5 separate regions of the Homo sapiens genome follow, and all the other regions are linked to region 4. Evidence: promoter capture Hi-C in 16 types of primary human blood cells and fetal thymus (Javierre and others, 2016). All regions are on one chromosome and are shown on one strand. Each heading gives the region's core, a stretch centred on a gene start or on the middle of the fragment in contact. The rest is flanking DNA. Distances are from core to core; before and after follow the strand shown.

Region 1 (3,143 bases), core at 387-2,886, 590 kb after region 4:
CCAAACACCACATGTTCTCTCTCATAGGTGGGAATTGAACAATGAGAACACTTGGACACAGGAAGGGGAACATCACACACCAGGGCCTGTTGTAGGGTCGGGGGAGCGGGGAGGGATAGCATTAGGAGATATACCTAATACTAAATGACGAATTAATGGGTGCAGCACACCAACATGGTGTTGCGGGAAGTCAGGGACCCCAAACGGAGGGACCAGATGAAGCCATGGCAGAAGAATGTGGATTGTGAAGATTTTATGGACATTTATTAGTTCCCCAAATTAATACTTTTATAATTTCTTATGCTTGTCTTTACTTCAATCTCTAAACATAAATTGTAAAGATTTCATGGACACTTATCACTTCCCCAATCAATACCCTTGTGATTTCCTATGCCTGTCTTTACTTTAATTTCTTAATCCTGTCAGCCAAGGAGGATGTATGTCACCTCAGGACCATGTGATAATTGCATTAACTGCACAAATTGTATAGCATGTGTGTTTGAGCAATACGAAATGTGGGCATCTTGAAAAAAGAACAGGATAACAGCAATTGTTCAGGGAATAAGAGAGATAACCTTAAACTGTGACCGCTGGTGAGCCAGGTGGAACAGAGCCATATTTCTCTTCTTTAAAAAGCAAACGGGAGAAATATTGCTGAATTCTTTTTCTCAGCATGGAACACCCCTGAGAAAGAGAATGTGTGCCTGCAAGTAGGTCTCTGAACTGGCCCCCCTAGGCGTAAGCCATCTTTTATGGTCAAGGCTGCAGAGATGAAATAGACTCCAGTCTCCCATAGTGCTCCCAGGCTTATTAGGAAGAGGAAACTCCCACCTAATAAATTTTGGTCAGACCAGTTGATCTCAAAACCCTGTCTCCTGATAAAATGTTATCAATGACAATGGTGCCGAAACTTCATTAGCAATTTTAATTTCGCCTCGGTCCTGTGGTCCTGTGATCCCACCCTGCCTCCACTTGCCTTGTGATATTCTATTACCCTGTTAAGTACTTGATGTCTGTCACCTACACCTATTCGCACACTCCCTCCCCTTTTGAAAATCTCTAATAAAAACTTGCTGGTTTTTGTGGCCTGTGGGGCATCACAGATCCTACCAATGTGTGAAGTCTCCCCCGGACACCCAGCTTTAAAATTTCTCTCTTTTGTACTCTGTCCCTTTATTTCTCAAGCCGACCGACGCTTAGGGAAAATAGAAAAGAACCTACGTGATTATCAGGGCAGGTCCCCCGATAACATGGCACATGTATACATATGTAACAAACCTGCATGTTGTGCACATGTACCCTAAAACTTAAAGTATAATAAAAAAAATAACTAATGAGTACTAGGCTTAACACCTAGGGAATGAAATAATTGATACAACAAACCCCCATGATACAAGTTTACCTATGTAACAAAAATAAAAGTTAAAAAAAAATCTTTCCCATCTGACCTGCCGCTCTGTCACTCCAACCCTGTCTGGGCTCATTCTCAGGTCCTGCTTTAATTGCCATCTCATTATCTCACTGGAGGGAGATATTTCCACAGAGCACATCTGCCCGGAGCTTGACAACTCTTGACAATGGGTTCATAACCCATTTTGTGTAGCCAGTTAGAAGTGTGGAGCTGGGCTCGCCTGTGGGAGTGAGCGAGTCCACACAGGGTTCCAGGGTGCTGTCGGCTGCTCACTTGTGCTCAGTCTGGGAAGGACTGCTGGAGATGAGCAACTCGGAGCAGGGATTGGGGAGGACCATTCCCACGCCCACAATGTGAACATCTTTTTTACTCTTCTAAGCAGACTATCTGTTTGCCTGGATCTGACAGCTGAATCCCTAGGACATAGAGAAGGGTTTTTTGTTGTATGAAAAAAAATAAATCAATTACCCTTATAACCACAATGGCACAGTTAACTACTGAAGTCCAATTCTCACAGATCACAGGTTTTTCGAGAAAGTGAGCCTCATTATTCTTGGACAGAGGAGCACTTTGAGTGTTTTCTCATTCTGTCTCCAGGCGCCACCAACACTGGAAAACATGGCTAAGTGGGTTGTTTGGCAAACAGACACCTCACACCTTATGCCTTTCCCAGGCACACACTCTTCCCACGCCTGCATTTCTGGGGCTGATTCCTGTTCCCTTTGCAGACGCAGAACTTGCTCCAGAGCTGGCACTATGGGCTTCTGGCTGTCTGGGCCCTGGCCGGGTCCAGAAGCAGAGGTGTGGTTTGATGAGTTGCACTTCTGGGATTATTTGGAGAGGGGAGAAAAAGGAGAGGGAAAAGAGCTCAAACTGTCTCTATGATGGCCCAGGTTGTGTTCAAAGACAGAAACAGGACCTGGGCTCAGAGGATGAGCTGGTCAGGAAATGAGCTCTCTACATGATGAAGCAGACAGCCCTGGATACTTTGGAGGGCAGTGGCCAGGGGCTACTTTTACACTCAAAGAAACACATGTAACCATCTGGGAGAGGCAGTGTGTATTGCACCTGCCTGGTTAGAAGACTGAAGGTGTCTCACTGCTTTTCTTCCTCTCGGGCTTCTTGTGCCCCATCCTCTTGCAGTCCTCATTCTTACTCGGTAAGGTGCCATTCTCCTGCCAACAAGATGACAATCTCTGCAGGAACACTTCTGTTTAAAATTATACATTTCAGTGAGTCAAAGTTGTCCTGCAAGGTAACTGAAGACAGCTGCACTCATCAGAATCTCGCACCCCATACATTGTGCTTTGGGGTTAGTGATTCAAGCACTATTTGAAGTAGTATACTGTAGAACTTAACTCTCCTCCCACCCACCTCCCATCACACTTTAAAATCTGTCTGAATTCTTAAAGCAGATGGGTGGGAGCACCATGATTACCCAGGACCATCGTACTCTCTGCACAGCAGAATTTCCTTTTGAGGCCCTCTCATTATTCTTGACTCATATTACCTTTTTGAGTAGGTGGCCTCTGAATTACACTTGTCCCCTCTCATTGTGATAGACAAGATAAAATATGAGAAACAGACCTGCAGAGAATAACGTCCTTGAAACTCTTGCAGCATTTCTCTGAAAGGTCCACCTACTGCATGGTCAAATCCTGCTGTATAGAGACACACCCGCGATTTTGCTGAGAATTGAGGATCAAACACCTATGTCAAGGTTCAAACTGGT
Region 2 (3,338 bases), core at 831-3,330, 570 kb after region 4:
ATTCTACTATTGTTGGATAAAGTGTTCTTTTTCTTTCTTTTTGAGATGATGTCTTGCTCTGTCACCCAGGCTGGAGTGCAGTGGCACAATCTTGGCTCATGGAAACCTCCACATCCCAGGTTCAAGCAATTCTTGGGCTCTTTTTGGGTTCCATATGAATTTTAAAATAGTTTTTACTAGTTCTTGAAGAATGTCATTGGTATTTTAATAGGAATAACATTGAATGTATAAATTGCTTTGGGCAGTATGGTCATTTTAATATAGGCCATTTTAATATAGGAAGATTGATTCTTCCTATCCATGAGGATGGAATGTTTTTCCATTTGTTTGTATCATCTCTGATTCGTTTGAGCAATATTTTGTAGCTCTCCTTGTAAATATATTTTGCCTCCCCGGATAGCTGTATTCATAGGTATTTCATTATTTTATGGCAGTTGTGAATGGGATTGTGTTCCTGATTTAGCTCTTGGTTTGATTGTTATTGATGTATAGGAATATTAGTGATTTTTCACACTGATTTTGTATCCTGAAACTTTGCTAAAGTTGTTTATCAGCTTAAGGAGCTTTAGGACTGAGAATATGATGTTTTCTAGATATAGGATCATGTCATCTGCACACAGGAATAGTTTGACTTCCTCTCTTCCTATTTGGATGCTGTTTATTTCTTTCTCTTGCATGAATGCCCTGGCCAGGACTTCCAATACTATCTTGAATACAAATGGTGACAGAGGAGTGGTGATAGAAGGCATCCTTCTCTTGCACTGATTTTCAAGAGGAATGCCCCATGATTTCTAATGGGAATGCCATTGTGGTGACAATTAGGAATGGTGACAGAGGGCATCCATCTGTCCCCATGATTTTCAAGGGGAATGCTTCCAGCTTTTGCCCATCCAGTATAATGTTGTCTGGGGGTGCGTCATAGATGGCTCCAGTTATTTTGAAGAAAGTTCCTTCAATACCTACTTTATTGAGAGATTTTAACATGAAGGGATGTTGAATTTTATTGAAAGCCTTTTCTGCATCTATTGAGAGATTATGTGGTCTTTGTCTTTAGTTCCACTTATGTGATGAATCACATTTATTGATTTGTGTATGTTGAAGCAACCTTGCATCCTGGGGATTAAGCTTACTTGATCATGGTAGATAAGCTTTTTTATGTGCTTCTGAAGTCAGTTTGTCAGTATTTTGCTGATGATTTTTGCATCAGTGTTCATCAAAGACATTCACCTGAAGTTTTGTTTTTTGTTGTGTTTCTGCCAAGTTTTTGTATCAGGATGATGCTACCCTCATAGAATGATTTAGGGAGGAGTCCCTCCTCCTCAATTTTTTAGAATAGTTTCAGCAGGAATGGTACCAGCTTTTGTTTGTACATTTGGTAGAATTCAACTGTGAATCTATCCGGTCCTGGGCTTTTTTTCATTGGTAGGCTATTTATTGCTGACTCAATTTCAGAGCTCATTATCGGTCTATTCAGGGATTCAGTTTCTTCTTCTTTCAGTCTTGTGAGGGTATGTGTGACCAAAAATTTATCTGTTTCTTCTGTGTTTTCTAGTTTATATTCATAGAGGTGTTCATTATATTCTTCAACTGTTATTTGTATTTCTGTGGGGCCAGTGGTAATATCCCCTTTATCATTTCTAATTGTGTCTCTTTGAATCTTCTCTCTTTTCTTCTTTATCCTATTTTATTGATTTTTTTCAAAAAACAGTTCCTGGATGCGTTGATCTTTTCCATGGTTTTTTGTGTCTTAATCTCCTTCAGTTCAAACTGGTTTTGGTTATTTGTTGTCTTCTGCTAACTTTGGTATTTGTTTGCTCTTGATTCTCTAGTTCTTTTAGTTGTGACATTAGGTTGTTAATTTGAGATCTTTCTAACTTTTTGATGTGGGCATTTAGTGGTATAAGCTCCCCTCTTAACACTACCTTAGCTGTGTCCCAGAAATTCTGTTATGTTGTATCTTTGTTCTCATTACTTTCAAAGAACTTCTTGACATCTGTCTTAATTTCATTATTTACTCAAAAGCCATTCAGGAGCAGCTTATTCAATTTCCATGTAATTGTATGGCTTTGAGTGAATTTCTTAGTCTTAATTTCTAATTTGATTATGCTGTGGTCTGAGACATTGTTCGCTATGACTTCAGGTATCTTGCATTTGCTGAGGAGTGTTTTGCTTCCAAATATCTGATCAGTTTTAGAGTATGTGCCATGTGGCAATGAGAAGAATGTATATTCTGTTGTTTTGGAGTAGAGGGTTCTGTAGATGTCGTCAGGTCTTTTTAATCTAGTGCTGAGCTCAGGTCCTGAATATCTTTGTTAACTTTTTGTATCAATGATCTGTCTAATATTGTTAGTGCAGTGTTAAAATCTCCCACTATTATTGTGTGGGAGTGTAAGACTCTTTGAAGGTCTCTAAGAACTTGCTTTATGAACCTGGGTGGTTTGTGTTTAATGCATATATATTTAGGATAATTCGATCTTCTAGTTGAACTGAACTTTTTATCATTATGTAATGCCTTTCTTTGTCTTTTTTGATCTTCGTGGTTTAAAGTCTATTTTGTCTGAAACTAAGATCGCAACCTCTGCTTTTTTCTATTTTCTATTAGCTTGGTAGATTTTTCTTCATCCCTTTATTTTGAGCCTATGTGTGTCATTGCATGTGAGATGGATCTCTTGAAGACAGCATACCATTGGGTCTTTATCCAGCTTGCCACTCTGTGCCCTTTAATTGGGGCATTTAGCCCATTTACATTCAAAGTTAGTATTGATGTGTGTGGATTTGTTCCTGTCATCATGATTTTAACTGGTTATTTTGCAGACTTGTTTATGTGGTTGCTTAATAGTGCCACTGGTCTGTGTACTTTGGTGTGTTTTTGTAGCAGCTGGTAATGGTCTTTTCTTTCCATATTTAGTGCTTCCTTCTAGAGCTCTTGTAATGCAGGTCTGCTGGTAACAAATTCCCTCAGCATTTCCTTGTCTGAAAAGGATCTTATTTCTCCTTCACTTATGAAGCTTGGTTTGGCTGGATATGAAATTCCAGGTTGGAATTTCTTTTCTTTAAGAAGTTTGAATATTGGCCCCAGATATATTCTGGTTTGCAGGGTTTCTGCTGAGAGGTCCAGTGTTAGTCTGAAGGGCTTCCCTTTGTAGGTTACCTGACCTTTCTCACTAGCTGCCATTAACATTTTTTTCTTTTATTTTGACGTTGGAGAATCTGATTATGTGTCTTGGGGATGATCTTCTTGTGAAGTATCTTAGTGGGGTTCTCTGCATTTGTTGAATTTGAATGTTGGCCTCTCTAGCTAGGTTGGGGAAGTTCTTATGAATGATATCCCCAAGTAT
Region 3 (3,125 bases), core at 259-2,758, 530 kb after region 4:
GGAGGATCACTTGAGTCCAGGGTGATTGGGGCAATCATACTGCTACACTCCAACCTGGGCAACAGAGTGAGACCCTGCCTCCAAAAAAAAAAAAAGAACCAGAAGTCTCTCTTCCAGCTCAGCTCAATGTGCAATCATTTTAGGGTGAAAAGAGCTACAAATTCAGTTTCTTATTTAAAAAAAAAAAAAAACCATTAAACTAGGTCAGGAAAACAAAATGATACTTGGTGTAGCCTGGTCCAACTCTAAAGACTCATAATGGAACATCCAAATTGGTTGGAAAGGGGCAGAATTATCTGTAATTGTGCCCCGGTCATTGTGCAGGCCAGTTCTGGGCACACGGGAAGCCCAACACAGCCCCTCTTTGGCTGCCCAGAGATTCCCAGGGGCAGCAGAAACAGGGCCATGCTCCTCAGTACCCCCACCATGCCCACTTCTCACAGCACCCTGAGCCATGTTATAGGATTCGAGAGCTGACCCACTTGTGCAGGAAGGGTGCGCCTGTCTTACTCAGGGTGCCTTCCAGTTTGCAGCCAGTTCTCATGCTGGGCAATGAGGAGGATCCCACTGAAATCATCCGAAGTACTCATGGCCTGAGGCCCAGGCCACAGTAAGGAGATCAGGAAGCCCTCACTCATTGGTGCTGCCATGCTGATGATGTGAGTTCCAGCAACTCCTGGGTTGTTCTGAGCAGTCGTTGATGTGTGTCACCCATAGGAGCATGCGATGGGCACACTGGGTCCTGGGTACCCAGTGCCTCTCCTCCCCACCCTCAGAGCCCTTCCCAGTCACAGCCACTCTGACATCAGCCTCTGATTCTCTCTCCTCTGACAAGACTTGCAGAGACTTTTCTATGTTCGCCCTACTCGTAAGAGGAAGAAGTTTCTAGAGATGGGATTTCCGATGCTGCGAGAAGCAAAAGGTCCTATCTGCTGCCTGAAAGGCAGTTTTATATTCTGCATAATCATAAGAATGCCTCTGTCTTAAAGAGCAAATTTCTACTAAAATCAGACCTGTGTAGGGCAATGGATGAAGAGTCCCAAGCTCTGGCTGTGAGCTGATAAGCTGCCTGCCGCAGGCAACACTGAGCCCAGCCCAGTGCCTGACTTCCCAGGCTAGCACAGCTACAGGGACTTTCTTATTTGGGGTTTTCTTGGCCTCTGCGCAGATGCAGTGAAGCATGCTCAGGTCAGCAGGGAGATAGATGCTCTTAAAAACAAAAGCAAGAGTTGTTTCTTCCTTCTGGGTACAGGGGCATGTGTCAGATTCCAAGGGCAATTTTCCTAGCATCTCAGAGGTACCTCTAAGGGACTGGCTGTCTTCCCACTATTAGACTCACTTAGACCACCTCACAGCCGCAGCCATTCTTTGAGACTGGCTTTAGGGCAGCTCCAGAGGCAGCTCTGGTACAGAGGACGGAACCCTAGCCCAGAGCCCCAGAGAGCCACTGCTTTCCTGGCTGCACCTGCCTATCACAAAGCCCTGCCCTCCTGGGTCCTGCACGAACTCCCACTCCTCTCCACTGGGCCTCTGGGAAGACCTGCTGGCATGGAACGGCCATGTGTTCTGCACTGTCTCTGGCACTGCACTTCCCCAGCCCACCTAGGACCCAGAGCCTCACTAACCGCCTCTGAGGCCAGGTGGCTTCCTTGTGAATGCATAGCCTCTGGTAGGTTTGTGCACCAGCTCCTCCAGTGTGCCGGAGCTTTTGTGGCATGGACAATGGTTTCCTGCATTTACGTGCAGGCTCCCAGCCCACAAGGTAGACTCTGAGGAAAAGCAGCATGCCTTCTATGGCTCTGGTGACAACAAGAAATGCCAGACCCAGTAGTGGAAACAGCAAAGGGCCTTCCTGAGCAAACTCTTAAGACCAGCAAGAGTGCAATGAACAAAACTGTACATAGCGAAAGCCCCTGCAAAAGGCAGCTTATATTTACCACACCATAGCAATCTGCATGTGCAGAATGGGTCCAGGGATAGCATACAAATAATGTCTCATCACCTCATTGGAATTAGAAGTCAGAAGCATAATATCTGAACTTTCAAGTGACTACATTAAGGATAAATTCCTTGAAGATAGGAATTATATCTCATTGACCTTCTTAATCCCAATAGTCACAGGATAGAACACATTAAGAACTGAATGAATAAATGACAGCTGGTAAGAGAGGGGATGAGGAAAAGGAAAAAATAATATAGGTTAAAGCATTCAGTCACTAAATAAAAAGTTCATTTCGGGTTGTATTATTATTACGAAATGAGACAAGCATATCTACACAAAGCTCTTTCTACTCCACTCTTGAGACAAAGCATGACTCTGAGGAGCACGGGGCTTTGCAGCAGATCCTTGAAGCTGTCCTGCTCTGGTCCTTCCTGTGGGAGGGGACCCCCAGCATGCAGCACCTCAGTTCCCCTCTAGGCTTCTATTTCTAGGTTTTTGTTTTTGGGACAAGATATCTCTCTGTTGCCCAGGCTGGAGTGCAGTGGTGCAATCATGGCTCCCTGCAGCCTCGACCTTCCAGGCTCCAGCGATTACCCCACCTCAGCCTTTTAAGTAGCTGGGACTACAGGTGCACACCATCGTGTCTGGCTAGTTTTTTTATTTCTCTTTTTTATAGATGGGGCCTTGCTATGTTGCCCAGGCTGGATTCTATCTCCTGAGCTCAAGCGATCCTCCTGCCTCAGCCTCGCAAAGGTTTCTATTTCTATTCAGATGAAGAGCTTGAGTCAGCTAAATTTGACACCTCTTGTGAGATTCCAAAGGTTCAAAAACTACTGGAACATAAGGCAAAAGGATCTTTTTTTTTTAACCATACTCAGGAGGTCGGTCGCCATAGCAGCCTTTTTATAAGAGAAAGAGAGAAGTGGTGGGAGGTGGAAGGTAAAATACCAGCCCTCAGAGCATCTCCTGCTTTTTTTAAAGTTCTTATAATAAACATGACTTCTTTGTGCTTTATATTCCCAACACCCTAGCTATTTGCTTGCAGCACTTGAGAAAATACATAGCCTTTTACTTGTTTAAAAAGAGGGGTTTTTTCAATACAAAAAAGTTTTAATATAAGAACCAGCATAGCAGCCAGAAGACTATCTGTTTTAAAGGGGATGTTTTGCTGATTCCAAGTCTG
Region 4 (3,244 bases), core at 378-2,877:
ACATAGAGTAGCAAGCTTAGAAAACTGCCTCTGGCTTTTACTCCAGGTTCCAGTTTGTGTGTGGAGAAATCGAATATGTATTCATATTTTCCTCTCTCCTGCAAGTACAGTTCCATTAGCATAAGGATTCCTTTGAATTATTTTCTCTGTTTGACATTTAAATTAGTGACTGTTGGAAGAAATAAGAATAATCATTGAAATTAGCTTAGGAAATCTGTGAGTGCCCCACCTCACCCTCCAAACACACATACACTCTTGTTTTCTCATTCCAAGATTAAGAAGTTATGCAACCTGACAATGCACTTTTCTCTGACAAGTCTTGACATCACCACTGTTATTTTCTTTTTCACTTTTTTCCTCCAGCACCTGTTAGAAACAAGAGTAGGGTGATCTTCATGTGAATTTGTTCTTTCCTTATTCTTTTAGCAAAAGATAGGGATAAAAGTCTGCAATGGACAGAGATGCTTTAAAATATGCTTGAAATTTTATATTTAAAATAAACCACCTGAAAGTATTTTTAGATTGAAGACCATACACAAAATAAAGGTGTTTTTGCAGTTACTAGACTGGGTTCTTAAAACTTTAATCAATCTATATTCATAATAATATCCTTCAATTTCTTTTTTAGCATTATACAGGAAACTGGTAGATACTGAGATGGATTTTAATGGCTTTATACTGATGAAAATAGCACCACATAAAAGCAGGGGAATATTAGAAATAAAAATAATTGTCTCTAAAGACCCATACAACCCTTTTTCCCATAAAAAAAAAGATGCACTGTAATACATGAAAAGATAAGATCTCTTGTCAAAAGTGTGAGAGAATGTCCGGTGGTTCCAAATGACAGTTACCTCTTGCCCCCCTTCTCTGCCAGAGTTCCTTTTTATCTTTGCAATCTTCCAGTTCTTCCGATCAGCCTGCCTTTAGAGGGCTACAAAGCATTTCTTTCAAGCCACCATAGCTAACACGGTGACATGAGTACTTAATTTGCACGCGGCCGCGCTGCCCCTGGCTTCGCGGAAGCCCTGAGTAGCGCAGCGCCCTCGCCGCACGCAAGGCTGCAGTCCCGCTCCAGGCCAGAGTCCCAGGAGAGCGTCCTCCGCGCTCACAGGCGCCTTTGTCTTCCCGCTTCCCCCTTCCTTTTTCAAAAGCCAAGAGGTAATTATTTGGTCTTTGTGCAAGGCAAACCTCTCCAGATGCCACTTCCAAATATAGGCTCTCATTAACACCAGAGGCTGGCCTGGTGTGGTGCAGGGCGGCCCTTCCTTCTCCTGGCGGACACTGTGTCCCCGCGCGCTGGCGCTGCACCACATCTGGAAGCCAGGCGGGCAGGGCAGAGACCCCGGCTCCTGCGCCCCTCCTAGCTCCCAGAGAGCGTGGATCGCGGGCGGGGCTCACCGAGCGAGGTTACCTCTCTTGAAAATACTTAAACACTTTTTTTCCTCTCCACTGAAATCTCAAAAAACAGCCCATTTTGAACCAGAATAATTTAGTCTGACAACAGATTCTTCCTCTGTTCACAGCTGTCCCAGAGGGAGGAGCTGAAATCTGAACCTCTCAGCTGTGATTGGATCTTTCTTGCAAAAGAGAGGAAAAAAAAACCCTCCCAGCCAAAACGGGCTCAGTTCGTAAAGGAGCCGGGTGACTTCAGAGGCGCCGGCCCGTCCGTCTGCCGCACCTGAGCACGGCCCCTGCCCGAGCCTGGCCCGCCGCGATGCTGTAGGGACCGCCGTGTCCTCCCGCCGGACCGTTATCCGCGCCGGGCGCCCGCCAGACCCGCTGGCAAGATGCCGCGCTCCTTCCTGGTCAAGAAGCATTTCAACGCCTCCAAAAAGCCAAACTACAGCGAACTGGACACACATACAGGTAAAAAGAGAAAAATATATCTAGAACTACGTATCTAGAGCTTTGCAAATATGAATCTACGTATTACCCTTCAAATACCATTACAAAAGAGCCAAAGATTCAACTGTTTTCCTTTTTAACAGTGTCCTGAAAGGGAGCTTACATTCTTTTGATCATTTAGGGTTCGTTTTAATTCAAAACTTTTAAAATTCTTGACTAACAAGGAACATTTCATTCAAATCTCGCAGCTTCGTTTGCTAAAGCCTGTGTATACATGCATAATGAGTATGTGAAAGATGAGCAACATAAGGATTGAATTACTGCGTTTTTCATGCACTAAGTCTCCTTTCCTTTAGAAGGCGGCTTGATGCAGGCATATCTTTGTACTCACGGTCGTAATACACCTAAATAGCCCATACGTAACATGGAAAACAACTTTTCTGTATGTTTAAAAATAATGTTGAGGCTCTCCTTCCTCAATGGGGACGGCGAAGGCACTGGCTTGGCTGCACTGTCTGACTTCAGAGCACCTATAGCTCCGTGCAGCTGTCAGCCTATGTGTGCATTAAGTACAGTAACTCCGTAGGTGCCAGGGTGGAAATGAAACATTTTACCAGTGTGTATGCCCTCCTAAATGGGTCTATCTTCTTCCTAAGAAAATCACGTGTGTGTTGCTAAATATCTTTCCAGTGTGTGTATACTTGCGTGTGGATTTATTTTTAATTATTTTTGCCTTAATCTTCTCTCCCTCCCTTTTCTTTCCCAGTGATTATTTCCCCGTATCTCTATGAGAGTTACTCCATGCCTGTCATACCACAACCAGAGATCCTCAGCTCAGGAGCATACAGCCCCATCACTGTGTGGACTACCGCTGCTCCATTCCACGCCCAGCTACCCAATGGCCTCTCTCCTCTTTCCGGATACTCCTCATCTTTGGGGCGAGTGAGTCCCCCTCCTCCATCTGACACCTCCTCCAAGGACCACAGTGGCTCAGAAAGCCCCATTAGTGATGAAGAGGAAAGACTACAGTCCAAGCTTTCAGACCCCCATGCCATTGAAGCTGAAAAGTTTCAGTGCAATTTATGCAATAAGACCTATTCAACTTTTTCTGGGCTGGCCAAACATAAGCAGCTGCACTGCGATGCCCAGTCTAGAAAATCTTTCAGCTGTAAATACTGTGACAAGGAATATGTGAGCCTGGGCGCCCTGAAGATGCATATTCGGACCCACACATTACCTTGTGTTTGCAAGATCTGCGGCAAGGCGTTTTCCAGACCCTGGTTGCTTCAAGGACACATTAGAACTCACACGGGTAAGAGAAAAACCATAGGCAGGAATGTTACTCTGAGATACAATGAAGCCCTGGGCTGGCTGTTGGATTTGCATGAAGTTGTGA
Region 5 (3,254 bases), core at 463-2,962, 510 kb after region 4:
CACTTCACAGGCCCTGTGGCAACATGAAAGGCCTGTCAGAGAGGTCTTGGGGAATTGGACAGTTGTGACTACTTCTTGTTGAAAAAAGTCTAACCATGATAGGTTACCTAATCTGCCCTGACAGCAGAGCAAGGAGAACAGTCTAGAGCAGGACCTGCACTTCTACTGACAGGGCAAGTAATGGCCCATATCTCCATGAGCAACATTCCACAGTGCTGCTATTACAGCAAAAGCTGAGAGTTGGTTGAAGTGGTCAGGTAGACCACGCAAGTGTCTCCTTCTGAAATGGGTAAGGAAAAGGCAGCTTCTGAGCCCCTGGAGAGGTAACAATGTCAAATAATAACTGCACTAGACAAATGAGACCTTCCTGCCACCTACTCTCCTCCTTCCCAGCCCCTAACTCCAGAGTAGAAGGAAAGGGTGAAGAAATGTTCTCCTTTCCAGTGCCAGGTCCCCAGGCTAGATAAGGACTGAGATGGGGTCAGGGAGGGGAGACACTTTCAATTAGATGAGAGATCAAAGTTAGGATTTAATTCAGGCTTGACTTTGAATAGTTAGAAGTAAATAGGAAAACTATGATTTCTGCCTGAGATCTCCTCAAGAGCAATGAAGAAAACATCAATTGATTAATTAAAATTGGATTGTTTCCTGCTTTGCACTTTCCTAAGTCCATTCAATATATGGGTGACACACATAACTGGAATGTGAGTGGGGAAAAGGAGGGCAGAGAGAAGCAGGAAGTAGTCTGTTGTTTCACATTACAAGTCAGAAAAATTGGGGCAAGAATTCAAAGAAAATTTTAGCATGGTGCATTTAAAAACTTAGGGTGGAAATGTGTTCTCATGACACTGACTTCCCTGCTGTGTTATGGTAAGTGGGAAGGATGGATGTGAGCATGGGTCCACAGCTCCTCTCCAGAGAGGGCCCCTCCTCACTCTCAGGCCAGGACTCCTGGGGGTCTGCTGCTGGAATCCTGGTGAGGGCATGCCCCACCAGGAGCCTGTGTGGGAAACCATGTGCTCCTCGGTGGTTTCTTTAAACTTGGTGCCAGGGAAGCTTCAGCAAGTTGAACATCCCAGCTGTGCTCTGAGTGTGTGAGACGTCCCAACTCCAATATCCACCACAAAGTTAAGAAAGGAGAGAAGAGGAAAGGAAGCTGGAAGTTCTCTGAGTACTGGTAACTACCAAGCCCATCTGGACACAGGGGCTGTGGGGTGGCCTCTGCGAGAGCCACTCTTGTCTTCATGACTAAGGGGATGCCCAGCAGCATCTGCTCATCTTCTTCCGAAATGGACCCTGTTTAGGTTAGTCTTGCTGAGCACTTAGGTGCATGTCTTCCTGGTAATAAAATTGAAATAACGTATTTTCTTGGCTGCTCCATAAACTGTTCTATGAATTTATTCTACAGGAGAAAAGGAAGGAGGTGGAATAAATGTGGCATTGGCTTTTTGATTGTGGTTTTTATTTCCATAAAGCTTAGATCACAAGAATGCATGAGATATTTACACAAATCTTTCCACAATTCCTGTGGCCTGTGGGGGCATAGCATTTCTATGACTTCACCACCGTGGCTGGCGTGTGCTCTCTCAGCAACTTTGCTGGCGACAGGGAGCAGGCCCCACCAGGGCCTGTAGTTCTGGGGCAGAGCAGGCAAGGTTTGTGTGTACCTTATTTCTTCTTCCTTCCATGCTTTTTCTGTAGCAAATTCAACTTCGAAAAGCGGTCTGGGCTTTTCTCTATCATAAAACATGGTGAGTTTTCTTATCATTAAGTACTCACTCTTTCCTAGATCATTTCCTTGGGGATGATAAAGTCAGAGGATGATAACTGCGAAAAACCAGGCTTCATTCACCTTTGCCATGAGAAGACTCAAGGGCTGATCCATCCCAGGTGAGAGAAGCACGGGAAAAAGGCAGCTGTGAGGCAACAAGGCCCATCACACAAGCTTCTCAAGTGATTCAGATTTCTGTAGCTGCAACAGGTTCTCCAGCAGATGGGGGATGAAGCAGCCTGGGAGTCTCGGGCTGCGTGAGGCTAGACTCCAAGCTTCACATAGGCACAGGGTGCACAGCAGGGCCAGGTGGGCAGCCGCTGCAGGAAGACTACCTGCAGGAAGTCTTTAGACGCCAGCTGCACACACCAACATAAAGTAGCAGCAGTGTGTGCGGGTGATGGTTTCCAAGCCACCTGATGTGGAGCATAAATGACTCATCCCCTGTCCAGACACCACCCCGGCTTTTCTCACATTAGTCATCTTATTTCTTATTTCTCTGACTTTGCACTACTGCCCACTAAGAATGTTGGTATCATGATCATCACTTTAAATGATGGGGGACAGGGTTGGTAGAGGTTTGGGAACACACAGACCTCCTATGGCCATGGCCATTTGGCCACGTGAGCCCCTTCTGCACCCTCCTCCACCATCTGTGAGAGGCAGTGCACTTTGGGAGGAAAAGTATAACGTTTAGCCAAGGAGACTGGCATTTAGGTCCTGTCTTCACCACTTCTTAAGCGAGACACATGGTCAGCCTGCCTAGCCTCTCTGCCTCCTTTGCCTTGCCTGTGTAGTGGACATAACCACATCTACCTTGCTGAGCTTGCTGAGGATGGAATGCAGCTGCACTAGGGCAATGTCTGGGGCACAAGAGGTGTCTCAGCAAATGAAATCTGAATAAAGCTCCTGGTCTGAGCTGAGAACAAGCATCCTGTAATTCAGGTTTTAATTATCTTGATTCACCTAACATCTGCAGTGGGCAGAAAGCACTGGGGGCAGCTGTACCCGGCAGCCTGGCTGCCCCAGAGAGTGAGTGGGGCTCCTTCCACCCAAGAAACAGAACACTTTATCCACAGTAGGGAAATCTCAAGGCACCCAAGGGAAATTGTCCGGTGATTTACATGTGACCGTGTGGGCTTCACAGGTGGCAGGAAGAAGACCCAGTGTCCACACTGGGAGTAGGGAGCCCCTGAGAGGAGCCCTCAGGGTCCCAGCAGGAACATGAGTATGCCACATGCTCACATCTGCTCATCCATCTCCAAGGTCCCTTCACTACCTCCATCCCTTATGAGGTTTTCTGGGAAATTTAACTTGTTTTCATGCAGGTTTAACAAGAAGCAATATAGCTTTTATTACATACAAATTAAATAGCCTAAAGGAAAAGTTTCAATTCCATTGTGGTGTTTAAACGTGACCCTGTAGGCTCCGTTCCCTCTGGGAATGCTGGACTCCAGATCATGGCCAAGCATGTTCAGAAGCC

Evidence for each region. The method cuts DNA at HindIII sites, captures the fragments that hold promoters and counts their contacts. A CHiCAGO score of 5 or more calls a contact.
Region 1: a contact is called between a fragment that was not itself captured here and the fragment with the promoter of SNAI2 in region 4, in 9 of 17 cell types (M0 macrophages, M1 macrophages, M2 macrophages and 6 more). The highest score is 15.1, in M0 macrophages.
Region 2: a contact is called between a fragment that was not itself captured here and the fragment with the promoter of SNAI2 in region 4, in 4 of 17 cell types (M2 macrophages, M1 macrophages, M0 macrophages and 1 more). The highest score is 7.6, in M2 macrophages.
Region 3: a fragment that was not itself captured here is called in contact with the fragment with the promoter of SNAI2 in region 4 in 4 of 17 cell types (M0 macrophages, M1 macrophages, endothelial precursors and 1 more); the score reaches 10.4 in M0 macrophages.
Region 5: a fragment that was not itself captured here is called in contact with the fragment with the promoter of SNAI2 in region 4 in 4 of 17 cell types (endothelial precursors, M1 macrophages, M0 macrophages and 1 more); the score reaches 15.3 in endothelial precursors.

What each region holds. Positions count from the first base shown.
Region 1 is chr8:48,331,057-48,334,199 of GRCh38, reverse strand. No RefSeq gene overlaps it. Among named protein-coding and RNA genes, the nearest start is that of LINC02947, 190 kb to the left of the region's middle. The HindIII fragment of the contact is 7,499 bases long and covers 1-3,143 here.
Region 2 is chr8:48,349,027-48,352,364 of GRCh38, reverse strand. The region is part of intron 1 of LOC105375821 (a long non-coding RNA gene); the gene reads right to left. Among named protein-coding and RNA genes, the nearest start is that of LINC02947, 170 kb to the left of the region's middle. The HindIII fragment of the contact is 1,860 bases long and covers 1,151-3,010 here.
Region 3 is chr8:48,390,595-48,393,719 of GRCh38, reverse strand. All of the region lies in intron 2 of LOC105375821 (a long non-coding RNA gene), which reads right to left. Among named protein-coding and RNA genes, the nearest start is that of LINC02947, 130 kb to the left of the region's middle. The HindIII fragment of the contact is 3,631 bases long and covers 1-3,125 here.
Region 4 is chr8:48,919,812-48,923,055 of GRCh38, reverse strand. SNAI2 (snail family transcriptional repressor 2) reads left to right here and starts at 1,627. Exons shown (of 3, transcript NM_003068.5): 1 at 1,627-1,869; 2 at 2,615-3,160. The coding sequence starts at 1,791. It overlaps LOC107986942 (a long non-coding RNA gene), which reads right to left and starts at 1,499. Exons shown (of 4, transcript XR_001745895.3): 1 at 855-1,499; 2 at 292-366. RefSeq lists an enhancer at 1,437-1,516. The HindIII fragment of the contact is 2,868 bases long and covers 18-2,885 here.
Region 5 is chr8:48,406,908-48,410,161 of GRCh38, reverse strand. The region is part of intron 2 of LOC105375821 (a long non-coding RNA gene); the gene reads right to left. Among named protein-coding and RNA genes, the nearest start is that of LINC02947, 110 kb to the left of the region's middle. The HindIII fragment of the contact is 470 bases long and covers 1,478-1,947 here.